Linked DNA regions of Homo sapiens: region 1 is linked to region 2. The links are contacts of gene promoters, found by promoter capture Hi-C in human tissues and cell types (Jung and others, 2019). All regions are on one chromosome and are shown on one strand. The core of a region is centred on a gene start or on the middle of the fragment in contact, and the rest is flanking DNA. Distances in the headings are between cores, read along the strand shown. Region 1 overlaps JPT2 (Jupiter microtubule associated homolog 2). Region 2 holds the start of TPSD1 (tryptase delta 1).

Evidence for each region. The method cuts DNA at HindIII sites, captures the fragments that hold promoters and counts their contacts. A contact is called where the count stands out against the background at its distance.
Region 1: a contact is called between a fragment that was not itself captured here and the fragment with the promoter of TPSD1 in region 2, in 3 of the 25 tissues and cell types used here (H1 embryonic stem cells, lymphoblastoid cells and spleen).

Annotation. Positions count from the first base shown.
Region 1 is chr16:1,697,863-1,702,226 of GRCh38, reverse strand. JPT2 (Jupiter microtubule associated homolog 2) reads right to left here. Exons shown (of 5, transcript NM_144570.3): 5 at 141-3,416. The coding sequence ends at 3,229. Among named protein-coding and RNA genes, the nearest start is that of MAPK8IP3, 6.2 kb to the left of the region's middle. The HindIII fragment of the contact is 5,896 bases long and covers 1-4,364 here.
Region 2 is chr16:1,253,284-1,257,479 of GRCh38, reverse strand. TPSD1 (tryptase delta 1) reads right to left here and starts at 1,411. Exons shown (of 5, transcript NM_012217.3): 1 at 1,118-1,411; 2 at 793-964; 3 at 418-683. The coding sequence starts at 1,199. The HindIII fragment of the contact is 12,300 bases long and covers 1-4,196 here.

The DNA of each region.
Region 1 (4,364 bases), core at 562-3,061, 440 kb before region 2:
CCCGATCTAGCAGGCAGAATGGTGTGGAGCCTCCTAGAGAGGAACTCTCAGGCTCACAGTCTGAGAAGTTTACCCTGAATCCACATAATGCCTGTAAGGATATTAAGTATGTTAGAAAACATATGAAAATAGCTAATACATCAGAAGAAAGACATCCAATCTGTTTTTTATTTTATTTTTTTACACAGGGTCTTGCTCTGTGGTCCAGGCTGAAGTGCAGTGGCATGATCATCACTCACTACAGCCACAACCTCCTGGTCTCAAGTGATCCTCCTGCCTCACTCAGCCTCCCGAGTAGCTGGGACTACAGGCATGCACCACCACATCCGGCTAATTTAGAGAAGTTTTTTTTTGTATAGACAGGGTCGTAGTATGTTGTCTAGGCTGGTCTCAAACTCCTGAGCTCAAGTGATCCTCCCACCCTGGCCTCCCAAAGACCCAAAGACTACAGACCTGAGCCACCATGCCCACCTGTTTTCTTGACAGGACTTGCATATGACAAGCTCTCTGCTTCTCCTCACCTATGCATTGCAAGCCAGGTCAGAGGCAGGTTAAACACCTTAAGGACATGTTAGGACAAGTGGCATACAAGGGAAAAAAACCCGTTCATTTAAGTTACAGAAACAGAAAAAAAAAAACTGGCTTATTCCCACACTTACTCTACTCAAAGCTTTGAGAAGACTAATTTTGGCATCCTCTGGCTAAATACAAAACAACAAAACAAAACAAGGCAAACTCTTTCAGCAAGAGCTGTGGGGGAAGGGACTATAAGGGACACACACAACTGACAGGCAAAAGCTCTGAGCACGTGATTGCTAAGTTTAATTCAACTGTTACACCCCATTCTGCCTTGTAAAAATAACAAAACGCTCCTATCAAAATGACATTGTGATGTGAGTACAGGCTTTTTGTTTTGGTACAGCTCTAAAAAATGTTGGCACCGAATGCACTTAAGAAAAGTGTTAAGGCTTAATACAAATACAGAGACGAGTCATTTCTCAATGCAGCTTAGAGGGTGAGAACAGGATGCTAGGTTTTTAAATCTTCCAAATACAGGCAGTCCCCAACGTACAGACATACAGGACACCTCCCAAATGTAAACGACAGCCACACAGCAGGGCTTGCATGCGCAGGAACTCTTCTTCTCCCAGTGAGCAGACTAAGCACTCTGAATCCCACCCCACTGCCTCGCAGAGGGAAAGAAGGCAGGACAGATGCAAGAAGAGTAATGTCAGGGGCTCCATCACAGCTGCCCAGGGGCTTCTGCTGTAGTTCATATTTTCCTCATTCCCATCTCTGGTTTCTCCCATAACCCAGAAGTCCCTGCCAGGGGCGGAAGTAAAGAGCTTTTCCTCTCACCTAGCGGACTGCAAGGGCTGGGAGAATCACAGGGCCCAGTACCGTCACGTCCTATTTCTTCCTGGCAATCTGATTTGGAATTCGTGAATCATTTTCTCAATAAAAAAACAGAAGTTATAAATGGTAGTTCATTTCCACCATTAAACTGTTTCCTTTCAAGTTGCATCAATGACTTTGAAGCACAAACCACCTGAAGTGTGTGTAGAGTCACACAGAGTGTTTCTTGGCTCCAAAGTCTACAGGCAATCAAAAGGGGGAAGCTGTCTTTGGTTGACAAAGCCTTGTGCAGACCCCAGTGTGCCAGGTGTAGGAAGGGGAGCTTGGCAGGCGGCTCCTGCAGGCACTTAAGCAGTGAGGCAGCATGAGCCTGACTGAACATGGCTGCTGCTTTTCTGAAGTTTAATAATGATGATGTTTCTAGCACCAAGCATTAGCTTTGTAGGCACTCAGAGCAAAGCTGCTGCCGCCACCCAGACGTTCTCCTCTGTTAACAGATGCCCACCCAAGGGCAGCATGAGAACTGGGCCTGCAGCCCTTGAGGGGGATGGGCAGAGGCTTCTGCCTGAAGATGAAAGCACCACCACCTTTGCCATCCCATTAGCTGAGTGAGCAAAGCTCAGGGAATTGGACAGGTGTGACTTTGCTACTGAACTCCTTCATCTCCTGGCCTAAGGTCTCTAGTCTCTTCTGGAAGCTTGTTTGTGAGTTAGATCCAGAAGTTCTATAAAGCTTTGTAGAGGGTGGCCTCCACAGCTCTTCTTCCTCTTTGGTGTACCTGAACAATTGACTTTTTTCTGGAAAGGTGTCAGAAACAGACCAGAGTCAACAATCATTTATGTAAAGCTGGTATTTAAAATTTAGCTTTTTAGATATTATTAAAGAATCCAAACCTAAGAACCCAAGGTTCCCAAGCATCTCTTCTTTCCACCAACCAATTAAGGAATAAAGAAAGACACAGGAAGAATTTAAACAAGCCACTTACTCGGAAATATCTGAATAGATTTTTAAAGTCCCGCAGAGGTCAGCGGGCCTCATTTATGGGAAGAACTGTGACTTGTGAAGGGAACTGTCTACATCACTGGAGAACAACAAACGCCTAAACTTAAGGCTGATGAGAGGAAAAAAGCAAGAATTCACAAGCAAAACTGGCATGTAAAGGACCAAGACCAGCCCTGTGTGAAAGACAGGCAGATTCCAACATGAGATCAGATCAGGCCGAGGTTTCAGATGGCAGGAACTGGGCACTTCAGAGGGTCAGGGCACCAAAACAATCTTCCATGAAGTAGAAGACGGATAACTATTATTATTTGGTTTTTTGAAAGCTGCCGAGGAAAAGCAATCAAGATGTTTCAAGAAAAGACTACAGAACAATATGCTGGGGGTAAAATGAAGTGGGGATGCTGGATTTAGCAGCCGTGATCTCCAGAATGGAAGCGGTTCTGCTAAGAGGTCAATATACTGTTAGTGTTTCTGCTTACGCCTCCTCCATCCCACAGCAGCAGTGGACAGGCTGTTTTGGTTTCTTTCAGTCATTCCTAGACATCCAATCAGCTGGCGGGCTGTTGATCCAAGGACCATGCCCTGCCCCACCTCCCCACCCTCACCCCCCTTCCAGTTCCTCTCAAACCTGGACTACACATGAGTGATGGCCAGGGGTGCCCCATTTCATCCCCACAGAGGCATCTCCCAGCCATCTGGAAGGCACGGGTCTCCAAGCAGCTGTCATGACGGCCAGGAGACGCTGAGCAGCCAGGCTCACATAAGACTAACCCTCTTCCCACCCCGCTCATTTGGGCAAAAGGAAATGAAAACATGGCTACCCTATCTCTTGAGTTTCTGGTCTGGCTCCGGGTGGAGCAGTGGCTTCTCTTAGTAGAAGGAGATGCTGGATTTGCCTCCCGGTGGGTTCAGGACCTTGTTGTGAGAGCGAGGCCGCGGCCCCAGCCGGGGCTCATGGCTGTCGACTGTGGGCATGGGCTCCTGCTCCTTGGCGGGGCCTGCTTTTCTGGCGCTGCCTTTCTCACCTGGCTCTGCTCCAGCCGGGATGCTCCTTGCAGCTGTGGGACACAAAGTTAGAACAACATCCCATTAGAGGCAACCCATGACCCTGACAGGCAGGCTGTGGAAATAAAAAGTGTGTCATAGAGCAACCTGCAAGAAATTCATGCTGTAACTGGGAAAGAGAAGACAATATAGACAGGCTTTTCATCTGGTACCAAAACAACTCACTGTAATTAGCAGATGCAGTTTTGAAATGGGCATAAAGTTGGGGCTTGCTACTGTAAATACTCCTTGATTTCTTCCTAAGTGAATTGTTTCTTTATATTGCTTGTTAGACACCACTCCCATTTCTTCCATCTCAAGTATAGAAAGCAAGCCCCTGAGAGTGACCATGAGGCGGCGAGGGAATGCATCCTAGGTGAGGGCTTAGCAAGGCAAAGGCAGGCTCTGTTGCTGTTACCCTGGGCTTTTCAAAGGTGAATGAAATCCCACAAATCTTGGTCATTAGTTAAGGGAAATGGAGACCCAAAGGCAGAAACCGATGCCCATGGTCAGGCTAAAGAGCCGTGGGGAGAGTCGAAGTCTGCCGCTCAACCTGAGCAGTGGCTCACTCCCCCGGGGTGACTCACCATGGAGACACCCGCCTCCCCATCCTCCATCCCTCTCTTGTGCCCCTCTCTTCTCGATTAGTTCTGCCAGCTCTATGCTTGGTCATGAGTTCACTGAAGGTTTGGGATCCCTGCCCATCACTACACAGATGAGCTTCTAGGAGACGACCCCATGGCCCTGGGCCTAGGCTGATGAGCAAGACAACCAAGTCCCAGGGTTTCACCCTAGCCTTCTTCAAATGCTGAATCCTCTTGCAGTGGATACACCTGAGCTCGTTTTAATCAGGTGGCCCAGAAGGTGCAAAGAAAGACTCCTTTTCATTCCCAGAGGAGAGACTAGCAACTCTTCCAGAAATAATGAGGCCACTCAGGAGAAGGGAAAGAAAACAAAAGCTC
Region 2 (4,196 bases), core at 162-2,661:
CACGACCCCGATTCCCAGGCCCCTGCCTTGTCTGTAGCACAGGGATGGAGGGCAGGCAGGTCTCATCCCAGCACCGGTCTCTCTCCTTCCAGCAAGACCCCCGTGTGATTTCTCTCTCCACATAGCAAGTCCGTGACGTACAAACTTTTGATGCACCCTTTCAGGCAAGGGGAAACCGAGGCACGGAGGTGCTAAGGGACTCTCCAAACCCCTGGGGTGGGGGACGCCCAGGCCCTTTGGACTCACCGTCTCTGCTCAGGGCACCTGCTGCCTCTCGCCACCGCCTGCTCCATCCATCCTGGCCTCCACAGTCCCCCTCCCTGAGCCGCCCTGAGGGACCCTGTCACCCCACGGACTGGCCTGTGGCTGTGACTTGGTGCCCACCTGGCCCGGCCTCCCGCTGTCCCCAACACCCACCATTATTGTCCACGTCGCCCCAGCCAGTGACCCAGCACGGCATCCCCGGGGGGAAGGTCTCCGAGGCAGGGGGCAGCGTGACCGTGTGGATGTGGCTGGAGATGTTCACGGGCTCCTCCAGCTCCAGCAGGGCGATGTCCGCCCCGGTCTGGATGATGTAGAACTGTGGGTGCACGATGATCCTGCTGACCGGCAGCAGCTGGTCCTGGTAGTAGAGGTGCTGCTCCCGCAGTTGCACCCTGAGGGCGGCCAGATCCTTGATGTCCCTGGGCAGCGGAGGATCCCACTCAGGGCCCTGGGCAGCCCCCAGGAGCACCCGGGAGCCAGGGCTCACATCCAGCCCTTGCCCACCCCTCCAGGCCCCAGGAGACTCACGGTTCCACGCAGTGCGCCGCGGTTAGCACCCACTGGGGGTGGATGAGGGAGCCCCCGCAGAAGTGCATCCAGTATGGGCCGCGGACTCTCAGGCTCACCTGCCAGGGCCACTTGCTCCTGGGGGCCTCCTGCCCCCCAACAATGCCCGTTTGCTGCAGGGCCTGGCCTGGGGCTGGGGCAGGTGCCAGGTCAGGACCAAGAAGCCGCCCCACGCCTGGGACCAGCCCTTCCCTGTGTGGGGGCCAGCCCGGCCTCCCCAGAACCCACCCAGGCCCTGATCTGTGGAATGTGGTGAGGGGCAGGGTGGACCCCGGCTGGGACTCACCAGGGGCCACGTAGGCCGGGCTCGCCAGGACGGGCAGCGCCAGCAGCAGCAGGCTCAGCATCTGGGGAGCAAGGAGGAGCATCGTGGGCCTGGCCGGGCCTCACAGGGCAGGGCTGGGGGCTACAGATTGTGGGGTGAAGAATGGAGCTGGGACGGGGGGACCGGGGTGGGTCCAGGCCTGCGGGCCTGGGTCTTGGTGCTCTGAGTCTGAGGCTGGGCCACTCTGCTCCAGGTGACGCTGATGTCAGGGTCTCTGAGAGTAGGGACTTACCCTGGCCACTCCCTGTTCCTTCTACCCAGCGGGCTCTCCCCTCCCCATTTATGCTTCCAGATCAGGAGGGGGCGGAGGAGGGGCGCTGGGTCCTCCCATCCAGACTCGGAGGAAGTGGATGACTCAGACCCAGGGCCCCCGTGTAACACATGCCCCCGCCACCCCGATGCCCTCTGTGTGTGGGGCTGCCAGGCAGGCCCCGCCGAGGGCTGAGCACTGGAGGCTCGCAGCTCCACCTGTCAGCTGGTGGATCCCAGCACTGGAACCCACCACCTTCCCGCTGGTGGGATCTGCTCCTGCCCCTGTCTCGGTGCCAGGAGGCCTTCAGGCATAGCTGCACCCAGGTGGCCTGGCTGCCCCAGGCTACAAGACCCGTCGCTCCTGAAACCTGTTTCCCCAAGAGGGACACGGGGTGAGGAACTCATGTCCATGGGCCACCCTCCAAGAGACGGGAAGGTGCCCACGGGGTGGGGACATGACGGGTGACACCCCTCCTACGGACTCCGAATCCACGGGGGTGGGGCCAGCCCTCCTCGACTCACTTGGTTGGGGGCTCACATGAGACCCCTTTGTCAGATGGGGAAACAGCCTTGAGAGGGGACAGCACCAAGTGTCCTCAGCCAGGAAGGGGCCCTGCTCCCCACCTCCCGTATGAGACCCAAGTCCTCCAACGATTCCTCAATGTCCACCTCTGGGGCTGTCCGTGCAGGTCCCCTGGTCTGCAGGTGCCTTCTTATCATGGGATCTGAGCTTCATCCGCAGAGGGAAGGGCAGACAGGAGTGCAGGTGCAACCCCAGGAGACCCAGCCCAGCTCCCCATGGACTCACCCCCAGCCCCAGCCCAGCTCCCCATGGACTCACCCACAGCCCCAGCCCAGCTCCCCATGGACTAGTCCCAGCCCCAGCCCCAGCTCCCCATGGAGTAGTCCCAGCCCCAGCCCCAGCTCCCCATGGACTCACCCACAGCCCCAGTCCAGCTCCCCATGGACTCACCCCCAGCCCCAGCCCAGCTCCCCATGGACTCACCCCCAGCCCCAGCCCAGCTCCCCATGAACTAGTCCCAGCCCCAGCCCAGCTCCCCATGGACTAGTCCCAGCCCCAGCCCAGCTCCCCATGGTCTCACCCCCAGCCCCAGCCCAGCTCCCCATGGACTAGTCCCAGCCCCCGGCCCCAGCTCCCCATGGACTCACCCCCAGCCCCAGCCCAGCTCCCCTTGGTCTCACCCCCGGCCCCAGCTCCCTGTGCTCTCCATCCCATTCAGCGCTGACACTGTCCCTGCAGCTCCGTCCACCCCACCTCCTGACTCACCTGGGCCTGTTGGTCACTGGGGCCTCCAGCCCACCTCCTCTGCTTCTGAGCCCCAGGACCCCCTGCCTGCCCCCCGACCCCCAACACAGGGCCACTCCGGGGCTCCTCCTGCCCCCACCCTGCCTGGGACCAGCCTGGTTTGAGGCTGACTCTGCACTGCGGGGCCATATCCATCTGGACTCCTTCCGGGCTGCACCCCCCGGGGGACAGGCAGGGGTGGCCCAGACCGCTCCTGCTCATGACCCTGCTTCTCCTCCATTCTCTGGACAAACTCCCCAGAGGCCTCCACCTGCCCCGTCCTGGTTCCATGAATGAGGCCCACAAGATGGGACCTTCAGGAGCCCAGGAGGTGAGGGGATGGGGTGACGGGGGACACCAGGGATGAGGGTGTGGCAGGGACACGGGAGACACCAGGGCTGACGGTGAAGAAGAGACTCAGGGGACACCAGGGCTGGGAGAACCCAGGGACACACGGGGACACCGGGGCTGTGGTGTGCAGAGGGCTCTGGGACCCCCGAGTCAGGGGCTCTGGGGCCGCTCCTCCTAGGAATGCTCCGATTGGGTCAGGCCTGGGAGGCGGACCAATCAGCACCATGGGGATGCGAGAGCCTTGATTGGCTAACACTGGGCCAATCAGGGCGCGTCCTGGGCACCCCGCCCCGATCCCCGGCCGCTCCCCTGGGGCTGCTGCAGGGCTGGGGTCCCAGGCCATTGACAGACACTGGGCAAGAGGCCACGTGGGGCAGTGTCCCCGAGAGAAGGGTGGGGAGTCGGGTGAGACGACAGTGGCCGCGCCCAGACTCAGGGCAGCGATGGGAAACTCAGCCCCAGGAGCTTGCTGGGCTGGGGAGACGCACCTGGCGCGTGCAGAGGCCCCGGCAGCCATGACTCACGAGGCGGAGAACTGCACGGAGAGCTCCGGGCATCCGCAGGGGGTTCCCCCCGGCGTCCTCGGCCGAGTGCCGGAGATGCAGAGAGACGTGGGAGCCGCGTCGGAAACGAGAACCACCAGATGAGAGGGGCGGAGTCCGGGAGTGCGCGCGGGGCTGGGGATATCGCGTGTTCCCAGCAGCTGAGTGGAGAAACCTTGTCAGAGGCAGGCACTGGAGAGTCCTCGGAAGGGTATGGAAGGGTACGAGGGGAGAAAGTAATCCCGAAACCAAAGGCTTCTCCGGACCCACCCTCACAAAGCTGAAAAGCAAAGCGCAGACGGATCCAAATGATTGCAAGTGACTTAACTGCCTGTGAGAACACATCTCAAAACGATGTCAAGGAATAGAACACAACCCAGCACGCAACAAAACACTCCAGAGAGTACTCACGAGATCCGGGGGCTAGTCAAGAACGAGCGGGTGGCCGGGCACGGTGGCTCACGCCTGTCATCCCAGCACTTTGGGAGGCCGAGGTGGCAGATCGTGAGGTCAGGAGAACGAGACCAGCCTGGCCCACATGGTGAAACCCCGTCTCTACTAAAAATATAAAAATTAGCCGGGCGTGGTG